Linked DNA regions of Homo sapiens: all the other regions are linked to region 3. Evidence: promoter capture Hi-C in human tissues and cell types (Jung and others, 2019). All regions are on one chromosome and are shown on one strand. The core of a region is centred on a gene start or on the middle of the fragment in contact, and the rest is flanking DNA. Distances in the headings are between cores, read along the strand shown. Region 1 overlaps MAGI3 (membrane associated guanylate kinase, WW and PDZ domain containing 3). Region 2 has its middle 83 kb from the start of LRIG2. Region 3 holds the start of MAGI3 (membrane associated guanylate kinase, WW and PDZ domain containing 3). Region 4 overlaps MAGI3 (membrane associated guanylate kinase, WW and PDZ domain containing 3). Region 5 has its middle 140 kb from the start of LRIG2.

Region 1 (4,237 bases), core at 1,656-4,155, 220 kb before region 3:
CACACAGGGCAATTTAATACAGATAAAGAAGTGGTTATTATTTGCTCATTTAAAGTGAAGGTAATAAAAATCAAGACTAAAATACCTAGCAACTTTATACACTATTTAGTGGATCAATTCATTTATTCATTTTATTCTTTTTTCCTTCCTCCCTTCTCATCCTCCTCTCCCCATCATCCTTATGCAGAAATAAAAATTAGAAATATAACCCAGTTCTTGACTTCAAGGAGTTTATAGTCTAGACAGGAAGACAGAAGAGATAAATGATAAGATAAAGATAAACATAATCTTTTTTGGGGAGTGCAGAGGAATACCAATTGCCTGGTAAGATTGCTATCAGGAAAGCCTGCTAAAAGCTGATGTTTAAGCAGTCTTTAAAGATAAGTTGGCTCACGCCTGTAATTCCAGCACTTTGGGAGGCCAAGGCGGGCGGATCATGAGGTCAAGAGATCGAGACCATCCTGGCCAACATTGTGAAACCCCGTCTCTACTAAAAATACAAAAATTATCTGGGTGTGGTGGTGCACGCCTGTAGTCCCAGCTACTCAGGAGGCTGAGGCAGGAGAATCACTTGAACCCAGGAGGTGGAGGTTGCAATGAGCCAAGATCGTGCCACTGCATTCCAGCCTGGTGATAGACCGAGTCAAATAAATAAATAAATAAATAAATAAATAAATAAGTTGGGATTAGGGAGAGGGAGATGATTCCAGATAGATTAAAGGGCATTGAGGTATTAAGAATGCTTGGTATTTTCCATAATTACAAATAATTTGGTAAACTAGAATGAAAGTTGTATGCAAAGGGAAATGAATTTTATGAACAAGCACAAAATTCCAACATTCTTAGAGTGCTGTGTTGAGAAGTTTGATCTTTATTTTGACGATGATAGAGAATTGATTAAGGTGAACTGTGACATGATTTAATTTATATTTGAAAAAGATTATGGGAAGCAGTAATAAAGGACGAAATAGATGGTGTGCAATGAGAATAAAGGCAGACAAATAAGATAAACACTAATAGACTGCATAAGAACTTGTGAAGACTGGAACTAAGGCAGGGGTAGTAGAATGGATAATAAAACAAAGAAGGTAAAGTAACAGAACTTAATGACTACCATGAGGATTGAGGAAGGGAAGGGAGGAAAGAGGCAAAGATGATTCCCAGGTTTCTAGCTTTTGTGGCATAAAAGTGATACATTATCAAATATTTATTGAATAATTATGAAAATGGGCCGGCACGGTGACTCACGCCTGTAATCCCAGCACTTTGGGAGGCCAATGTGGGCAGATCATTTGAGGTCAGGAGTTCAAGACCAGCCTGAGCAACATGGTGAAACCCCTATCTCTACTAAAAATACAAAAATTAGCTGGGCGTGGTGGTAGGTTCCTGTAATCTCAGCTACTCAGGAGGCTGAGGCAGGAGAATTGCTCGAACCTAGGAAGTGGAGGTTGCAGTGAGCTGAGATCTCATCACTGCACTCCAGCCTGGGCAACAGTGTGAGAGTCTGTCTCAAAAAAAAAAAAAAAAGAATAATTATGAAAATGGCTGTGGGAATAGAAATTAGAAATTAATGTGGATTTAGAGGAATTTAGGAGACAGATGATATATTAAAAGTGCCTAGTAATGTGTCTACCACCAATGGACACTCAAGAAATGGCAGGTTTTTATTTTTTATTTTTTTTTGAGATGGAGTCTTCCTCTGTCGCCAGGCTAGAGTGCAATGGCATGATCTCAGCTCACTGCAACCTCCGCCTCCCCAGTTCAAGTGATTCCCCTGCCTCAGTCTCCCGGGTAGCTAGAACTAAAGGTGCGTGCCACCATGCCCAGCTAATTTTTTGTATTTTAGTAGACAGGGTTTTACCATGTTGGCCAGGATGGTCTTGGTCTCCTGACCTCGTGATCCACCCGAATGGCAGGTTTTTAAAAGTTAGAATTGATAGAACTTGGTAGTTAACTGCAACAGAGAGGAGACAGTGAGGGAAAGGCGAGGATGACAACCAGTTTTTGGCTCAAGCAGCTGGGGGGATGTCATATCTGTTGAAGGCAGGAAGGGAAGGTGTTACATTTGAGTGATCTGTAGAACATCCTGGTACAGATAAATAACAAGCTCTTGGCCGTATGAACCCGGTACTCCAAAGAGAAATATAAGAAGATAAAGATTTGAGAGACATTGTAGTTAAAGCTATGACAGCAGACATGATTACCTAGATAAACTGAGCAGAGAAAGGTGAAGAACAGAACCTTAGGAGCACTAACATTTTAAGCGGCAGATGGAGAAAGTAAGAATCATCAGGGGGAATGGTGTAAAAGAAGACAGAAGAGGAAGGGCATGGTCAGCATTAAAAAACGCTTTGTTGGGGAGGCTGAGGCAGGAGAATGGCATGAACCCAGGAGGCGGAGCTTGCAGTGAGCCGAGATCGCGCCACTGCACTCTAGCCTGGGCAACAGTGCAAGACTCTGTCTCAAAACAAACAAACAAACAAACAAACAAAAAAACGCTTTGTAAAGCTGTTAGGCATAAAGATAAGGGCTAAAAAGAGTCTATAAGATCAGGAGGTTACTGGTAACCCTGAAAAGGTAGGAGGCAAAAGTCAGAATACTGTAGTAACTGAAGAGAAAAATACGAAGTAGAGTCCTTAAGAATAGATGACTTAAAACAAAAATTTGCTTGTGGAAAAGATAGTATAAAAACTATGGGGAGGGTTAGGGCCAAGAGAAAATTTGTTTGTTTATTTTTGATACAGGAAAGACCTAACCTAACCATCTTTTCCTGTGTATGAAGCCAAAGTATTCCCCTAAAAAGCTATTTCAAAAGACAAAACTATTTTGGGCATATCAAGCAGCTGGTTGGTTCTAAATCCCATGAATTTATCTTTCTTTCCTCTTCCCCAAATAGGATTTTTCTTGTTTAAATGTAAGAATTACAATTATTTTCTCATGGTGGAGCTCTATTCAGTTGATAATTTTTTTAATCATTCTCTAAGCTCTGAAATATCAACATTCAATATATTTGTAAGCTGCCTTTAGCAAAAATTTAATCTTTCTTTCATCATAAGAGAAATGGGATGGGTTGAGGGTAAAACGAATTCCTAATGTTGTATTTTCAAGACAACTACCTAACCAAAACACTATTTTATTTGAATAGAAGATAAAATGTACATCAATTAAACCAAGCTGTTCAAGCTGTGTCCTTACACTGTATTTGAATACACAGCTGTGTTCAGAATATCAGAAGACTGGGAAGAAAAGGGCATGTTTTAGAAACTGTAAGGTCTTTCTAGAAGATCTTAAATGTTCAGCAGAATGTAAACAATATCTTAACCTATAAAACCTACACTTAAAATATTATTCTTCTCTTTTCAGCATCTACTCTGTGCAAAGCACTGCAGAGAATACTAATATGAATCACACATAGTTCATCCTGAAAATAGTCTTCCGTGGGGCTATTACGTGGGGAGACAAAGTGTAGAGAGGAAAGTGGAAAAGGCTGGCTGAGCATAAAACAAATAGACTCAATGTTCTAAATTGTAGGCTCCCCCGAAGATAAGTATAGGCAATGTTAAAAAGGTGTACCCAGTTTTGTAAGTGGGAGAGTAGCCCATATTAAAGAGTTTCAAACATTCCCAGAATACTGAATGCAATTTTGATCATTCTATTTTAAGAAAAATATACTTAGGATGATCATAAAATGTACTGTCCACTTTTGAGAATAAAAGGGGATACTATTAATAATTATGTTGGGGCAACAGGAAAAAGCTGGATCAGTCCTGGGCCAACCAAGACATATGTTCAGCCTTAATGTAAAGAGCATTAGGGGGAAATGTTCATCCAATTCTTCAAATTCCTTAGAGAATAAAGAATGGGAGGAACATTTCCAGTTTCTCGGAGCCCCTTCACTTTCTTCCCCAAGGAAGAAAGAATGTCTTATCTGACTGGGGAGTTTTACACAATGAACTCAATATGCTTGGCTCAGGGACTCTTGAGTTCTCTCACTGTTTTGGTTAACAGCCTGCCTGCAGAGGCGTATTCTGGTCTGTTCTCTGCCATGTCTGCCCGTTGGGAGGAGGCTTGCAGTTGAACACAGAGGCCAAAGACTAAGTACTCATGTCTCCCTCCTGCAGGGGTAAAATAACAGCAAGGCCATGTACATGCAGGGCTAACATTCATTTGCTGACATTCTGACTTCATCTGTCTGTCTCTGGTGTCTTATTTCTCTATTGACTATAAACTGGTGAAT
Region 2 (4,662 bases), core at 2,112-4,611, 240 kb after region 3:
GAAATCAGTATAAATTATATTCAAAATCTATGGAGGAAAACAATGAAATTCTGATGAAAGGTACCAAAAAAAAAACCTAAATAAATGGAAAGATAGACTATGTTCATGGATAAGAAGACTTAATATTGTCAAGATGTCAGTTTTTTACAATTTAATTTGTGGAGTCAACACAATCCAATCAAAATACCAGCAAGTTATTTTGTGGATGTAGATAAACTGAGTCTAAAGTTTATATGGGGAGGCAAAAGACACAGAATTACCAAGTCAATATTGAAATAAAAATCAAAGTCGGCCAGGCACAGTGGCTTACACCTGTCATCCCAGCACTTTGGGAGTCCGAAGCAGGCAGATCACTTGAGGTTAGGAGTTCAAGACCAGCCTGGCCAACGTGGTGAAACCCCATCTCTACTAAAAATACAAAAATTAGCCAGGTGTGGAGGCGGGTGCCTGTAAACCCAGCTACTCAGGAGGCTGAGGCACGAGAATCACTTGAACTCAGGGGGCAGAGGTTGCAGTGAGCCGAGATCCGCCTCTGTACTCCAGCCTGGGTGATAGAGTGAGATTCAGTCTCAAAAAGAGAAAAAAAGAAAAAAAGAAAAAATCAAAGTCAGGGGACTGGCATTACCGAACTTCAAGACATAGTACAAAACTACAGTTGTCAAGACATTGTGGTATTGGTGAAAGACTAGACAAATAGATCAATGGAACAGAAAGACAGCCCAGAAATAAACTCACATAAATGTAGTCAACTGATCTTTGACAAAAGAGCAAAGGCAATACAATAGTGCAGAGACAATCTTTTAAAAATACGTCAGAACAAATGAACATATATATACAAAAAACAATCCATTTTTATTTTTTGAGACAGAGTCTTGCTTAGTTGCCCAGGCTGGAGTGTAGTGGCATGATCATGGCTTACTGCAGCCTTGACCTCCCAGGCTCAAGCAATCCTCCCAATTCAGCCTTCCAAGTAGCTGCGACTATAGGCGTGCACCACCATGCCCAGCTAGTTCTTTAATTTTTTTATAGAGACAGGGTCTCCCTATGTTGTCCAGGCTTAAAAAAAAAAGAATCTAGACACAGCTTACATCTTTCACAACAATTAACTGTAATAGATAATAGACCTAAATGTAAAACACAAAACTATAAATTTTTTAGAAGATAAAAGAAAAAAACCTAGATGACCTTGGGTATGGTGATAACTTTTAAAATACAACATGAAAGACATAATCTATGAAAGAAATAATTGATAAGTTGGACTTTATTAAAATTAAAGACTTATCTTTGAAAGACAATATCAAGAGAATGAGGGGCTGGGCACAGTGGCTCACATTGTAATCCTAGCACTTTGGGAGGCTAAGGCAGGCAGATCACGTGAGGTCAGGAGTTCGAGACCAGCCTGGCCAACATGGCGAAACCCTGTTTCTACTAAAAATACAGAAATTGGCTGGGTGTAGTGGTGCGCACCTGAAATCCCAGTTACTTGGGGGGCTGAGGCAGGAGAATTGCTCAAACCTGGGAGGCAGAGGTTGTAGTGAGCCAAGATCGCACCACTGCACTCCAGCCTGGGTGACAGAGCAAGACTCTGTCTTGAAAAAATAAAAAAACAAAAACAGAATAAGGAAAAAAGTCATAGACTGGGAGAAAATGTTTACAAAAGACACATCAGATAAAAGAACGTAATTCAAAACTTACAAAGAACCCTTAAAACTCAACAATTAAAAAAAAAACAATTTAAACATGGGCAACAGACCTGAACAGACACTTTACCAAAGAAGATATACAGGTGGCAAGTAAGCATATAAAAAATGCTCAAACCAGGTGTGGTGGCACATGCTGTTATAGTTTGAATATTTGTCCCACCTAGATCTCATGTTGAATTGTAATCCCCAATGCTGGAGGTGGGGCCTGGTGGGAGGTGTTTGGATCATAGGGGTGGATCCCTCTTGGCTTGGTGCTGTCTTTGTAATAGTGAGTTCTCATAAGATCTGGTCATTTAAAAATGTGTGGCACCTCCCCAATCACTCACTCTCTCTCTCTTGCTCCTGCTCTGACCATGTGATGTGCCTGGTCCCCCTTTACCTTTCACCATGATTGTAAACTTCTTGAGGCCTCCCCAGATGCTGAGCAGATGCCAGCACCATGCTTCCTGTAAAGCTTGCAGAACTGTGAGCCAATTAAACCTCTTATCTTTATAAATTACCTAGCCTCAGGTATTTCTTTATAGCAATGCAAGAATGGCCTAACACGTGTCTATAGTTCCAGCTACTCAGAGGCTGAGGCAGGAGGATTGCTTGAGGCCAAGAGCTCAAGGCTACAGTGCACTGTGATTGTACCTGTGAATACTGTGAATAGCCACTGCACTACAGCCTGGGCAACACAATGATATTCTGTCTCTAAAGAAAAAAGGGAAGGAAGATGCTCAACAAGGGCATATTTTCATATGCCATTCAAAAATTACAAATTAAAACATAAACAGATAGCATTACACACTTATTAGAATGGCCAACCAAAACACTGACAACATGAAATGCTTATGGGAATGTAAAATGGTACAGCCACTTTGAAAGACAGTTTGGGCTGGGCACAGTGGCTCACGCCTGTAATCCCAGCACTTTGGGAGGCCGAGGCGAGAGGATCACCTGAGGTCAGGAGTTCAAGACCAGCCTGGCCAACGTGGTGAAACCCTGTCTCTACTGAAAATACAAAAATTTGCTGGGTGTGGTAGTACATGCCTGCAATCCCAGCCACTTGGGAGGCTGAGGCAGGAGAATTGTTTGAACCCAGGAGGCAGAGGTTGCAGTGAGCCAAGATCGTGCCACTGTACTACAGCCCAAAAAAAAAAAAGACAGTTTGGCAGTTTTGTACAAAACTAAACATAATCTTACCATATGATCCAGCATTTTGTACTCTGTGATATTTACCCAAAGGAGTTGAAAACTTAAGTACACACAAAACATGCACACAGGTATTTATAGCAGCTTTATTATGATTGTCAAAACTTGGAACCATCTAAGATGTTCTTCAGTAGGTGAATGGATAAACTGTGGTGCATCCAAACAATGGAATATTACTCAGCATTAAAAAGAAATAAACTATCAAGCCATGAAAGGACATGAAGGAAAGTTAAATGCATATTACTAGGTGAAAGAAGCCAATCTGAAAAGGCTACATTCTCTATTATTCCAACTATATGACATTCTGTAAAAGGCAAAACTATGGAGACAATAAAAAGATTAGTGGCTGCCAGAGGTGAGAGGAAGAAGGGGATGAACAGACAGAGCATAGAGGATTCTTAGGGCAGAGAAACGGCTCTGTATGATAACACAGTGGTGGATACATGTCGTTACACTTTCGTCAAAACCCACAGAGTGTACAACACCAAGAGTGAACCCTAATGTAAACTATGAACCTTGGTTGATAATGATGTGCCAATGTAGGTTCATAGATTGTAACAAATGGACCACCCTGGGGCAGAATGTTGATAGTGGGGGAGGTTGTCCGTGTGTGGGGATGGGGGACATGGGACATTTCTGTACTTTCCATTTAATTTTGCTGTGATGTAAAAACTGCTCTAAAAATGTTTATTAATTGAAAGAAATGAAGGAAAAGGCCAACAATGAAAAGAAAGTTTTTCTCTTCCCTATCCCTAAGTGACCCAGTTTCTTCTCCTGCCACCCTCAAGTCACTCACTGTGACCAGTTTCTTGAGTATTCTTTAAAGATATCCTTGGTATTTACATATATGGCCATGTTCTTTTGATACCACAGTTGCCTCCCTTAGGGAAAAAGAATGTTTGGAGTTAACCTGAGGGAACAATTCCTTCCCTCAACCCTCTGTATGCTTCCTTTAAATTTTTGAAGCTCAGATACCAAATGGAATATAATGGAGTATGTTTTTATGTTTCCTGGGAGTTGGTGAGGTGTACTGAAGAGCCTGGCATCTAACATCTGTTGGGACTAAGTTCAAATTCATACCTACGGTGGGTGACTTCACCTTTCTGAACCATTTCCACCTCTGAAAAATGGAGGTAATCATCCCTACCTCCAAGGGCTGCTGTGAGGATAAAATAAGAGAATGAGGGGGAAACATCTGCCACCCTCCTTCCTTTCCCTCCTACAGTTTCTCCAATGCTTTTTAAGAATAGAGAGAAAAGGAAAAGCAAATTCCCAAAATCTACACGCTGTGTAATGATTAGCTTTGACCTAATTCTACTTCAAAATGTTTCCTTCTCTTACCCCCCACTACCTCCCACCCAGATGCCTAGTATAAAGAACTCATGAAAACTTAGGCCAGATGGGAACCTGGAATATTAAAGCCTTTGAGAAAACATCTGTTTGTTCATTTATTACCATGTTTTTGCTTCTGTCTTGTTTGGTCATAAGAGCCTATGGGGAAGTCCTTTGCACTTTAGTCTATACAGGGCTCTTATATCCTTCATTTTACTTCGCAACTCTGTGAAAAAAGGAGAAAACTGAGGTTCAGAAATCAAATGCTTCGGCTAAGAGGCATCTGGCAGAAACGGGGCTAGACCCAAGTTCTTCTCACTGGTTTCCTTGCCTTTTTCTATCTCTAGTTGGCTTTCATGCGTAATCGCTACTGCATCAGTTAGGATGCATTTGGCTGCAAGCAAGAGAAAATCCAAGTCACCCTGGCTCATGT
Region 3 (4,113 bases), core at 707-3,206:
AAATGAGAAGGAGATAACATATTAAATTTTTATCCAGAATTTTCTAGCATTTTGCCATCAAGGGATGGACTGCTACCTAGCCCAGGTAACAATTAACCAGCCCATTATATTTTGATGCACCGTATACTCAGCAGAGCACATTAAGGAAAAACAGTTTGGTTTCTAATAATGTTACAATCACAATTCTCTCTCCCACAAACATCTAAGACGACAGAACCACATTCTATCTATGCTGAAACAAAACCAACAATGCTGTCTATAACAAATTCATAAGAACTACTACATACTATCAGATCTCACTGTATGCTGTCTCTGATCAATGCTTTGAAACTGACGAGTATGCCATAAACATAACGTGCTTTGCAGCAATTTTTACTAGCATAAAAGATACCAGGGCAACAGAGGCTCCTTTAACCTACCACTTCAACAAAATTCTGTAAAATCAAAAGCGTTACAGAAGCTTTCACTCCGCTAGGCACCTAGGTCTTCCTGCAAAACCCAGACTCTATTCAACAGCTCCCTGCAAGAACACACCAGTCTGCCACATATCACATATTGTACCGTCATCGGTACTCAGACACCTGAACCACCTGGACTGACAGAGTTAGGCTGTCAGCTCTGAGATGTCTGCTAGAGTGCAAGAAACACTGAAGCAGCTAAGCCCTTCCAGGTACACCAGGTGGTAACCTTGGCACCAAGTGCCTCTATAGTAAAGTCCCTTTTTCCCTGTTAGAAGATGCGTAAGATCGTTCCAAAGAAAATGTTACAATCCTAAGGGCCTTTTTGCACAACACAGGAAAAGGCTGGCCTTCTCTAGTCAAAAACTCTTGTCTGCGGGGGGAGATGGAGCTACAAATGTAGGAAACCCAGCTTCTAGTCGCAATTCTGTGACAGCTAGCACAGCTAGCAGAGCAACCGCGCCAAGCCAGAGCTCAGTTTTCCCTTCGGCAAAATGGGACTCACCAACGCCACCCCTCCCCCTCGTCAAGGAGTCTGGCACACCCTAGAGGTCTAAGATTACCCGGGACAATACGCGGTGGGGAGGTGCCGCCGCTCCCAGGACGCCCACCCTGAAGCCCCTCTCCCCAACACCCCGAGACAGATACGCAGGGCCGGCGTACCTGGTTTCACAGTCTTGAGACGGATGGGCTCGCGGAAGTGGCGGATGACAGCCAGGGTGTCCCGGTTGGTGAGCCCGCTGACAGGCGTCCCGTTTACCTCCAGCAGCACATCGCCTGGGCTGGGCGCCTTGCCCGAGACGACGCAGCAGGTGCCCCCGCCGGGCTCCTCGCGGAGCCGCCCCAGGTAGGGGAACTCGCCACGCTCCGCGCCACCGCGGATCTCCGCGCCGAAGTCGCCCGGGGGCCCGGCCCAGGACACGGCGCACTCCTGCACCTTGCTGAGCCAGTGCTTCTTCTTCTTCAGCGTCTTCGACATCCCGAACCCCGCTGCACCATGGGGGAGACCCCGCGCGGGCGGCCGGGGCGCCGCTCCGGCCCCGTCTCAGCCCGGGGGCCCTGGGCGGCCCGCGCAGCCCGGTAAGGGGGGCCTCGCCGCTCCGGCCCCCACCCCGCGACCACAGCCCGCTGGGGGCCCGGCCGTTCCCAGACGCGAGACGCCCCTTGGACGCCCCTCCCGGCTGCGCTCCCCGGGGCTGACCGGACTCCGCGAGGGCCACCGCGGGTTAGGCTGAAGAAAGGAAAAGGGAATTGTCCCCAGGAGGTTCCAGAAGGGGCTTCGGGCGGGGTCACTGCCGCCGGCTGGTCCCTGGGCTCAGCGCCCGAGCGGCGGGAAAGGCTGAGGCGGGGGGGCGGGGAGGTGAAGGGGGAAGAGCCGGGAACGGGAAAAATCCGTGGGGGGCGCGCAGAAGCGCGCGTAGACCCGTCGCGGGATCGATCGTGGCCGCTGCGGAGCTGTAGCGCGGAGACCAACGCCTGCCCAAGCTGCCAGGAAACTGCCGCTTTCAAACCAGCCGCAACCTCCTCCTCCTCCCTTTTCCCTTCCCCCGGCCCTCGCCCATCCCTCATCCAGAGCCCCGCCCCCTCCCGCCGCGCGGCGCCCGGCGCGCTGCCGTCACAGGCTGGGCGCTTGGGAACGAGCCCCGGCCCTGGACTCTCGCGCCAGGGATTGGCCCCCGGCGGGCAGGAGGCGGACCGCCAACGAGAATGGGGACCACTGGTTGGTCGGTGCGAGTGGAGGAGGCGGGCACTAGAATGACTGAAGTTTAGAGAGGGTGGAAAAAAGAAGTTTGGAGAGTGAGGGAGGGCGCAGAGGAGGGGCAGGGGAGTGGAAGGGGCTGTAGGTCGCAGGGCCGGGAGAGGCCCTCTGCGCGGCGGCTGGAGCCGAGGAAAACTCGAATCCGAGAGGGACCGAGCTCCCCGAAGTGGGGGCGTGGCCGGCGAGTTAGGCGGAGACGCGGGCGGAGCCTCTGAGCCTGTGCGGGGCGCAGAGAGGGGCCGGTGTGCTTAGATTGGAAGACAACGTGCGGAGTCCTGAGCCGGCCGAGGTTCCGGGGCCTTTAGGGTGGCCTGTTACAGCCGATAGTTTGCATTGAGTGGATATTGCTTGTTCATTCGTTCATTCAACAGATGTTACTGAACGCCCATTGAGGCAGGGCTTCGGAGTCCGGTTGATGAAAGATATTATAAAATAGAGTCCGGCACTGCTGTATGACCTAAGACAAATTAGACAACCTCTCTGAGCCGCAGCGTCCTCAGTGAAAAGTGAAGATTACAGAAGATGTACAAAATAACTGCATAGTGCCTGACAGTGGGTGGTTGCCTCTTAAAGTTTGGTAGCTGCTGCTGCTGCTGCTGATGACGATGACGATTTTGTGTTAGATATTGTGCTAGGTACTGGGATTCAAGGGTGAAGAAAACAGAAGCCCCGCTATTGAGGAGGTTACAGTCTAGTGGGAGAGACTGAGAAGTAAGCAGACTGCCTGAGGTGAGGGAGTGGGGTGGAGGTAGAAGGTGGATTATTAAGAACTAACCTGGTAGCCAGCAGATCTGGTTGGAGTCCTGACATGCTACTTACTTGCTGTTTGACCTTGGCCAAATCTCAGTTAAAGGAGGTGAAGGGAGAACGAACATTAAATAAAAGATATCGTAGATCCCTTCCAGCTCTAATTTTTCAGAAATTTCACTTGAGCTTTCTCTCTTCCCCGGCTTGACTTACACTCTTCCCTGTCTTTGGAATGCCCTTCATCTCATCTCTTTTAAAACTCCTATCCGTCCTCATCCCAAATGCCGGCTCTTCCAGGTAGCTTTCTCTGATTTCTTGCCCTCAAGTGGAAAGTGTTTTCTCTGAGCTATGATCTTTGTTTCACTTTTGCAGCATGACATTTATTTGTGTAGTCTCCTGTCTCCCTTTAATAGTAGGTGAAAGCCCTTATAAAACTCCACACCTCAGATAGACTGGACCAAGCTTCAATAGCTGCAGTGATTTCGTTGACACCATTGTATCAGTCAGGGTCCTGGCAGGAAACAAATGGCATTTTGCAAAGATGTGGGCAGGGTGTGGGAAACCACAAGAGAAGCTGGAACCCTGAGGCTACAGCTCCTAGATCTGTCCAATCGGGAAAGAACAGTTACCGAAAAATCCAGACACACAGGGCCACCTGACAGGAGTCTGTGACCTTCAGTCAACGGATGCAGTCAGCCTAAGTAAACACCCAGCAAAGGACCTGGGGGATTTATATCTAACTCACCACCCTCCTCCAGTCTCCTGCTGGTGCTTGTCAATGGCCAAGTCCAACCAGACGCCAGAGGGCAAGGGAGGCTTTTGATATAGTTCATATCAGTCAGTTTCAGAAAAGGAAACAGTGCATCTGAGGGGAAAATATTCAGCACAGACACCATGTGGATGGCTCAGATTTAACCATATCTGAGACAAAGCTTGGAGTATTTTTTTTCTAAACTACTACCTATACTAATGGATTCCTGGATAAAATCTCCATAACCTACACATCATCTGTTTTTGCAGGAACTCTGGGAAAACATCTTTCTGTGTCTAGATTGCATCTGTTAGAATGCCTTTGGCCTCAAGGAACAGAATATTTGGCAGTAGCTTAAAGCATGAGGTCATTTACTATATCTTCAATATAAATTTCAA
Region 4 (4,347 bases), core at 972-3,471, 160 kb before region 3:
TAGATGTTTAATTAGTTAAGAAAGGACATTTCTGCTTCAGTTCTTTTATTCCATCACATACTTACATGGAATGGTTCTCAAGTAGAGATTATCTCTGATCACTTGCTGCAGTTTGTGGTCAATTGATCCTTTTTGAAACTGAAGACTTAGGTAATGCCGCAAATCTTTATTAATGACTTTGCCTGGAGCAAAGACAAAAAAAAAAAACAGAAAATAAATGCATAATTTTTAGACGTTCACTTAAATATAGAAGCTAGTAACTGAATACTCTTAAACCAGTTAGCTATAAACAGGATAAAGAAATCAGAGAATTTTACTAAAAAGAAAAGAACACCAAATTATTTATAGGTACTATAATTAAAATATGTACCTGCAATATAATGTGGGAATAATTTTACATGGTAAGGGAGGGAGAAGGTACAGGTCAGAGAAGGTGACAAAAATATTCAGAGTAATTTCATTTAGTCCCATGGCTTTAAATACTATCTATATAATGATAACTTCCACATTCATATCATGTATCCATCCTTGATCTACCTCTGCCAAGCTCTAAACTCATCAAACTGATGCATATATATTGCAGATATATTTGGAAGTCAAATAAGCACCTCAAGTTTCAGATAGCCAAAACAGAACTTTTAATTCCATCTGCCCCCAATGTTTCCTCCCCAACATTTTCCCTATTGTAGAAGGCACCATCAACTTGCAAAACAATCTCGAAATCTAGAAGTCATCCTTGATTTCTCCTTTTCACTTCTACCCATCCAGATCCAACACATTAGCAACTTTTGTCGGTTCTACTTCCAAGACATATTTGACTTTTCTTCATTTCATTTGCCACCACCCTAATCTAAGCCACCACTGATTCCTCATCTGGAATTCTGTCCCAGCCTTCTAATCGGCATCATTCTTGTCTCCTTCCTGCTGCCCACCACTTAGAAGCCAGAGTGAGATTTAAAACATAAATCTGATAATTACTACTCTGTTTAGGGTCCCCTCAGATATCTTATACTTGCAACAAAATCTAAAATCCCGAACAGGGACTAGAAGGCCCTACATGTTCTGGCTCCAGCCATCCCTGATCCTAATTTGGTCACTCTTCCCACTGTCAAACACTGCTCCACCTATTCTTGGCCATCTTTCTGATCTTCGAAAAGGCCAAACTGGCCCTACCTTAGGGTCCTCTTCCTATCACTAGATTGAACAGGCATTTTCTGTCCACTTGCTTGACTCCTAGATACAATGTGAATAATTAAGAAAGTCAAAAATTTTCTATTATTTGTGGGGAAAATGGGAAATAAATAGAGAGATATAAGGGCTCTCAAAGAAATATTAAGCAGAAAAAACAGGATTGCAGAAATCTGATAGCAATGAATTTATAGTAAGGGTTGAACTTAAAATGAAACTCCAAACAGTCCAAACCATTGTTCATTAGACAAGGCTTCAGATAATTAGAAAAAATCAATGCTAAGGCAAAATAGATTATTTTATTGAATAAGAACAGTTGATTAAAGTATACTCTTTTATTTAGAGCAACGCACTTATGACAAGCTTAGATAAACCAAATACTATTGATCAGCTAATTTTTTTAACTATTATTCCACAATATTACATTTCTAACTCCCTCTTTTGCTCTTCTCATATGTATAAATGAACATAACCTATGCAAGACGGTGTTAACATAAGCAGGAAATCAGTGTATGTCAAAAGTTCAGCAAACATATTCAGATCCTAAACTAATAAACACAAACCCTAAAAAGTCCTTCTTTTGTCTTGCTAAAAATAGATGCTGAGCAAGGGGGAGCCTTTGTGATTTTAATAAACCTGAAAGATATTTACCAGGATGAACACAGAAGAATCTCTGGTCCCAGAGGTTGTTTCTATTAAGCATTTAGGGATCCCACTAACCCAAGCCTTATTTAGATAAAAATAATATTATTTCATTTTTTAAATGTATAATACAGAATCATACAGTATACTATTCATCACCGGATAGAATAAAATGCTAATTTATAATCAATACTGTATAGTCTCATTACTTATTGAACAAAAATATACCAAATAATGAATTCATTAAGTATTTTTAAAATCAGGTAAGAGATGTCTCAAATGTTTTGTAAATGTTATACAAAAGTTTTCGTAGATCGCTATATAGTTGTCTAAAGGTGTTTTGTGATATTTGGGGAAGTTTGGTTAGGGTTTTTGAATGGACAGAGAATGCATCATTGTTTTTTCCCCCACTTAAAAACAACATAATGTAGGCTCCGACATCTAAATATCTGCTATACAACATATTTTCAGAAAAAGACTTAATTTGGATAAAAGATAATACATGAATAATTTAAAAAGACAATCTGACTCAATACTTTGTTTTATTAACTCACGATTTCCTTTTTTTTTTAAATTTGAAGCTTTACTGTCAGATATGGTATAACGTACAAAGATAACTATAAAATGCTAAAAACTCAGATTGCATTTTAATCTATAAAATAACAACCATTAAATTAGATATAATTAAGGACAAAGCCACAATAAAATCATAAATTACAGCATAATGGGTCTCTTAAGGCAAAATAATTGAAACAACTCAATTCTTGCTTTTTTTTTTTTTTTTTAGATGGAGTCTCACTCTGTCGCCCAGGTTGGAGTGCAGTGGCACAATCTTGGCTCACTGCAACCTCCGCCTCCTGGGTTCACGCCATTCTCCTGCCTCAGCCTCCCGAGTAGTTGGGACTACAGGCGCCCGCCACCATGCCTGGCTAATTTTTTGTGTTTTTTAGTAGAGACGGGGCTTCACCGTATTAGCCAGGTTGGCCTCGATCTCCTGACCTCATGATCTGCCCACCTCGGCCTCCCAAAGTGCTAGGATTACAGGCATGAGCCACTGTGCCTGGCCTCAATTCTTGTTTTAAGGGCCTACAAGATCTTAAGACTCAGAGGCCAAGGCTGGAATTGCACTCTGTTTTTCACCGTTCATTTCTACTGGGATTCTGGATGTAACACCGAGACGAACAGTTGTAAAGAAAAGTGTGAGGGACAATTTTGTAAGTGTGATATTTTGGCTGGGTGCGGTGGCTCATGCCTGTAATCCCAGCACTTTGGGAGGCCGAGGCAGTTGGATTACTTGAGGTCAGGAGATCGAGACCAGCCTAGCCAACATGATTAAACCCCATCTCTACTAAAAATACAAAAATTAGCAGGGTGTGGTGGTATGTGCCTGTAATCCCAAATACTCCAGAGGCTGAGGCAGGAGAATCGCTTGAACCTGGGAGGCAGAGGTCGCAGTGAGACAAGATCGTGCGGCTGCACTTCAGCCTGGGCAACAGAGTGGGACTCTGTCTCAAAAATAAGCAAATAAATAAATGTGATATTTTATGTAAACATCTGCAAGTATTCAAAAAAGTTATCACACTTTTTTGAGGCTAGAAACAAAATATTACAAGCATCAAAGAAATATCAATTATGAAAGTTTAATAAGTTAACTATGGACTTGCATTCTCTAAAAGTAACAATTAATTAAAAAATATATTGGATGTAGCAGCCATCATGGACTGCCAAAAGAACTTCCTAAGTGAACAAAATATATGGTTCTCTCTTTGATATGATTCCAGGGAATTTGTATTTTTTTAAAAAATATGTAAATATCTTGAACAGGCAGCTGACTGTGGGATTACCAGAAGGCCAACAGACACATTAACTCAGAAAGACACTGCTGAATATATCTGTATTATCAATTTGTATATGAACATCTGCCTTTTGTTTAGGGATAGTTCACAGGAATGACATTTCAAGGGTATGAAAAACATCCAAGTGAGCTTACTATAGTTGTTACTGAACAAAGAAAAGATTCTTCATAACGTTAGCATTCTTAACATAGCCAGACTTTGCTCTAAATGCTAATATTACGCCTTGGCTTCTAAGTAATTTATAAGTCAAGGTTACATATGTAAATTAAAAACAGATTTATATATCTTACAAATACAGCTTGGTTGCAAAAAAGTCCCTAACAGAAACCTCAATCATGAATAAATCCAGGAACTCAAGTTTCAACATACAAATCCTTAAAAAAACTCGTTAACTACAAATCCATACTTTCTGAATATATGCAAATTAATGTTCACCACCAGTTCTCTGTGAGGAACCAGTATATAAAGTAACTATTATTTAACTAAACGCTGGGCATGCGGGCATGGCAATGGCCAGGCAAGCAGCTGTAAATCAATCTAATTACAATCTAATTTCATCATGTTTCCACAAGGATAGTTAAGGAAACACTGTCAACCACTTGGCGAAAGTCAAGATACAACATGTCTTTACTATTCTCTAATCCAATAGCAATTATACAAC
Region 5 (4,339 bases), core at 708-3,207, 170 kb after region 3:
TCTGAGGCATGTCTCAGTTAATTTAGAAAGTTTACTTTGCCAAAGTTGAGGACACGTGCCCATGGTACAGCCTCAGGAGGTCCTGATGGCATGTGCCAAGGTGGTCAGAGCACAGTTTGGTTTTATACATCGTAGGGAGACATGAGATCAATCAACATACGTAAGATGAGCATTGGCTCGGTCTGGAAAGGCGGGACAACTTGAAGCAAAAGTGGGGAGGGGGCTTCCAGGTCATAGGTAGATAAGAGACAAATGGTTACGTTCTTTTGAGTTTCTGATTAGCCTCTCCAAAGGAAGCAATCAGATATGCATTTATCTCAGTGAGCATAGGGGAGACTTTGAATAGAATGGGAGGCAGGTTGGCTCTAAGCAGTTCCCAGTTTGACTTTTCCCTTTAGCTTAGTGATTTGGGGACCCCAAGATTTATTTTCCTTTCACATTGGCTAGGATTCTAAGAGACAGAGAGAGGACCCAGGTACAAGCACTGGGTGCTTCCTGCAAAGCCCCAGCCTCACTTGATTATTCTGTTCCCTTTAATGCATCTGCACGCCCTTGTTTCCAAACGATTGCTCATGCTGTTCCCTGTGCTTGAAATGCCTTCCCCCATTTCTGTGTGTAGAAGTCTTTAACGGCTCCTCCATAAAGTTTTCAGACACCCCCTGACCATTATGATCTGCTCATACCTCTAAATTAGCAATAATACTTCCCTCCATGTGTGCATGAGACCTCGTGTGCTCCATTCGAGTTGGTTTCAATTGTGATCTCATTTCATTTCACACATTTAAAAACATTATTCTGAGAAGGGGTCTATACTTCTGATTTCCAATGACACCAAAAAGATTAAGAATCCCTGACCTAGCTTGTGTTTAATATTTCAGGAGGGTGGAGACCATGTTATAGTCCCTTTTCGCCCTCTACCTTTAACACTGCCTAGCATAGTTTGTTGACTTGAACTTGCCAGTGTGGGGGACGGTCCCCACAACCAGTTGTGACAGTGAGTCCCACGGATCCGGCTGCTCATGGCTGGTAGAGTCCAATTAATAAGGAGTTCTGGCGGAAAGAAAGTGACTTTTATTCCAGAGCTTAGCTGAGAGGAAGAAGTACAGGCTCCTGCCTTAAGGGTATTACTTCAGCTTTCAGGGCAGAAAGCAGGGGCTTTTAAAGGGGGACTTGGAGTCAACCTCATGTAGGAGGTAGGGGAGGAGGTGTGGGGCCCATGTGACTTGCTTCCTGGGTCTTATCTATCAAGTGGTCTGGCTAGCACCATTGTGGGCAGGGCCCTGTTGTAAATTGACAATTTTAATTTTATCTAGGGCAAAATTTAGGTTGTAAATTAACTGTTATCTTGAGGCAATCTCCTGGCGAGAGAGAGTTCCAGAAGTGCCTGCTGTGTTTCAAGGTTCAGCCTCCAGAACTTCTAAGTAAACACATAGTTAGATAAGCTTGCCGTGTAGGGAGTGTCTGGTGGAGAGAAGGTAAAGGTTATAATTGCATTCCTAAAGAGCTAAGTAGGAGGTGGGGGAAAAGGAAAAAGGTTAAGAAAATCCATTTTTTTCTTTTAAAAATGTGGTAATCAGTTACACTCATGCAGCATGCACTGCTCAGGAAGGCAGCGTGTCCCTCATCAAGGCCCAGGGTCACTTTGATTTTGCGTGTGCTGCTCTGTTGACCAGGCCCTGGACTGGCCTTGAGCCTCCTGTGCTCCTGACCCAGACATGGCCACATCATGCTGGGATCCAGCAGTGAGCATGCACGCAGCTCCTCAAGGTCACACAGAGGCTCCGTCTCGGGGCTTAGGATCTCAAACACTAAATACAGTTTCAGCTGAATTTCCTTTTGACTAATTTGTCTTCTTTAGTATCCAAAGAGGAAAATCAGGCCCATTGTTCTGCTCTTAATAAAATAAAATTCAATCTGCAGAAGCAGAAGAAAGCTGGTGGTGTCTGCTCAGATATGCAAGCCTGCTTTTCTCTGAAATTGATTGATAGTTACACATACAAACATGATATCACTTTTATGTCACTAGAAATTCCTATTATCCATTTTACCCCTCCTTGAGGGTTTTTAGTAGTTGGTGGTTTGCAGTTAGAGATGTTCTAGGAAAACCGCAGAGATCTGACTAATGAAATGCAGGAAGACAGAGCCAAGAGGGAAGGGGAAGGGGACAACTGTTTTTCAGCAATTGCTGTGATCCAGACCCTGCATTAGGTATGCTACAAAGCTTCTTTCATTTTTTCTCCTAACAACCCTCTGGGTTGGGTATGATGATCTTCACTTTACAATTGGTAAAGCTATGCTTCAGAAAGGGTAATCAATGTCCATGGCCACACAGCTAGAGGAACAGGGCCAGGTTTGAACTCAGCTTTGTCTCACTGGAAAGCCTGTGCATTTCCCAGTCTTCAGGCAGCCACAGGTGAGGCCAGCTTGGAGCTTGACCTCCTCTCTGGAGTGACGATGTTTGGCCCTTGCAGCTGAGGCTGTCTGTGTGTCCGTAGCCCCTGGTGCTGCCCGACCTAGCACAGTCCTTGATAACTGGTGAAATGTCCAGCTACTTTGCTGATAGTAAATGAGCAAACAGGCAAAGCAAATGCCAAGAAACTCCAGAGCAGGCAGCAGGGCTCAGCAGCACCTCCAGAATTATAAAGGACAGGATGTCAGAGTTTCTGAAATCCCCAAATTATTGGTTGTCTTTGCTCCTTGGTCCTACTGTTCCCCTTTCACCACCATCTTCTCTACCCTCTCCTCTGAACATCCTCACAGTGGCTTCCTCTTCTTTTATTCTCATAAAAGCCTGCCCCCAGCAGAGGATTGCATACACCAATTCTCCCTGACTCTCATAAGACCTAGACCATCCCTTCCAGAGATTCTCTGTTTTCCAGGAGACAAAGAGTCTTATGCCTAAGGAATAACTTTGTGACTGTGGAATTCTTTGAAGGTAATGGGGTAGGTCATCTGAAGGAAGGTATGGGAAAAGGAGAGGGATGGAATGTCTTCCCCATGAAGCCACCAAAATTCCACTGGATGGACAGTTGCTAATATAGTTTGGATATTTGTCCCCACCCAAATCTCATGTTGAATTGTAATCCCCAATGCCGGAGGTGGGGCCTGGTGGGAGGTGTTTGGGTCATGGAGGTGGGTTCCTCATGGCTTGGTGCTGTCTTCATGATAGTGAGTTCTCATGAGATTTGGTCATTTAAAAGTGTATGGCACCTCCCCGTCACTCTCTTTTGCTTACTCCTGCTTTTGTCATGTGATGTGCCTGGTCCCACTTCGCCATGACTGTAAGCTTCCTGAGGCCTCCCTAGAAGCTAAGTCAGCACCATGCTTCCTGTAAAGCCTGCAGAGCTGTGAGCCAATTAAACCTCTTTTCTTTATAAATTAGCCAGTCTCAGATAGTTCTTCATAGCAATCAAGAATGGACTAATACAGAAAATTCATACTGAGGAGTAGGGCATTGCCATACAGATATCAGAAAATGTGGAAGCAGCTTTGGAACTGGGTAATGGACAAAGGTTGGAAGAGTTTGGAAGGCTCAGAAGACAGGAAGATAAGGGAAAGTTTGAAACTTCTTATAGACTGGTTAAATGGTTGTGACCAAAATGCTGATAGTGATATGGACAGTGAAGTCCAGGCTTTTGAGGCCTCAGATGAAAACAAGGAACTTACTGGGAACTGTAGCAAAAGCTCATGTATTATGCTTTAGCAAAGAGCTTGGCTGCATTCTGTTTATGCCCTAAGGATCTGTGGAAGTTTGAACTAAAGAGTGATGATCTAGAGTATCTGGCAGAAGAAATGTCTAAGCAGCAAAGTGTTCAAGAAGTGGCATAGCTGCTTCTAACAGCCTACACTTCAATGCAGGAACAAAAAAATGACTTAAAGTTGGAAATTAAATAGGAAGCAGAGTGTAAAAGTTTAGAAAATTATCTGGCCATGTAGCAGAGAAAGAAAAAGCTTTTTAGGGAGAGGAATTCAAGCTGGCTGTGGAGCAACCACTCGCTAGAGAAATTTGCATAACTAGAAGGGAGCTAAGTGCTAATAATCGAAGACAATGGGGAAATGGCCACAGAGGCATTTCAGAGACCTTCAGGGCAGCCTCTCCCATCACAGGCCCAGAGGCCTAGGGTGAAAGAATGGTTGTGGGGGCAGGCCCAGAGCCCCAGTGCCTGAGGCAGTCTTAGGACGACCTGGGCAGCCTTGGGACACTGCTGCCTGCATCACCCTCTCCAGCTCCAGCTTTGCTCAAAGGGCCCCAGATACAGCTCAGGCTGCTGCTTCAGAGGACACAAGCTATAAGCCTTGGCAGCTTCCATGTAGTGTTAAGCCTGCAGGCATACAGAAT

What was found. The method cuts DNA at HindIII sites, captures the fragments that hold promoters and counts their contacts. A contact is called where the count stands out against the background at its distance.
Region 1: a contact is called between a fragment that was not itself captured here and the fragment with the promoter of MAGI3 in region 3, in 1 of the 25 tissues and cell types used here (hippocampus).
Region 2: a contact is called between a fragment that was not itself captured here and the fragment with the promoter of MAGI3 in region 3, in 1 of the 25 tissues and cell types used here (H1 embryonic stem cells).
Region 4: a fragment that was not itself captured here is called in contact with the fragment with the promoter of MAGI3 in region 3 in 1 of the 25 tissues and cell types used here (hippocampus).
Region 5: a contact is called between a fragment that was not itself captured here and the fragment with the promoter of MAGI3 in region 3, in 1 of the 25 tissues and cell types used here (thymus).

What each region holds. Positions count from the first base shown.
Region 1 is chr1:113,608,379-113,612,615 of GRCh38, reverse strand. All of the region lies in intron 6 of MAGI3 (membrane associated guanylate kinase, WW and PDZ domain containing 3), which reads right to left. Among named protein-coding and RNA genes, the nearest start is that of PHTF1, 150 kb to the left of the region's middle. The HindIII fragment of the contact is 7,685 bases long and covers 1-4,237 here.
Region 2 is chr1:113,153,678-113,158,339 of GRCh38, reverse strand. No RefSeq gene overlaps it. Among named protein-coding and RNA genes, the nearest start is that of LRIG2, 83 kb to the right of the region's middle. The HindIII fragment of the contact is 7,078 bases long and covers 1-4,662 here.
Region 3 is chr1:113,388,358-113,392,470 of GRCh38, reverse strand. MAGI3 (membrane associated guanylate kinase, WW and PDZ domain containing 3) reads right to left here and starts at 1,956. Exons shown (of 21, transcript NM_001142782.2): 1 at 1,122-1,956. The coding sequence starts at 1,437. RefSeq lists enhancers at 911-960, 1,011-1,510 and silencers at 1,191-1,350, 1,411-1,540, 1,951-2,310, 2,341-2,390, 3,380-3,624. The HindIII fragment of the contact is 4,324 bases long and covers 1-3,661 here.
Region 4 is chr1:113,545,350-113,549,696 of GRCh38, reverse strand. It overlaps MAGI3 (membrane associated guanylate kinase, WW and PDZ domain containing 3), which reads right to left. Exons shown (of 21, transcript NM_001142782.2): 2 at 66-182. Among named protein-coding and RNA genes, the nearest start is that of MAGI3, 160 kb to the right of the region's middle. The HindIII fragment of the contact is 4,969 bases long and covers 1-4,347 here.
Region 5 is chr1:113,215,002-113,219,340 of GRCh38, reverse strand. No RefSeq gene overlaps it. Among named protein-coding and RNA genes, the nearest start is that of LRIG2, 140 kb to the right of the region's middle. The HindIII fragment of the contact is 3,324 bases long and covers 296-3,619 here.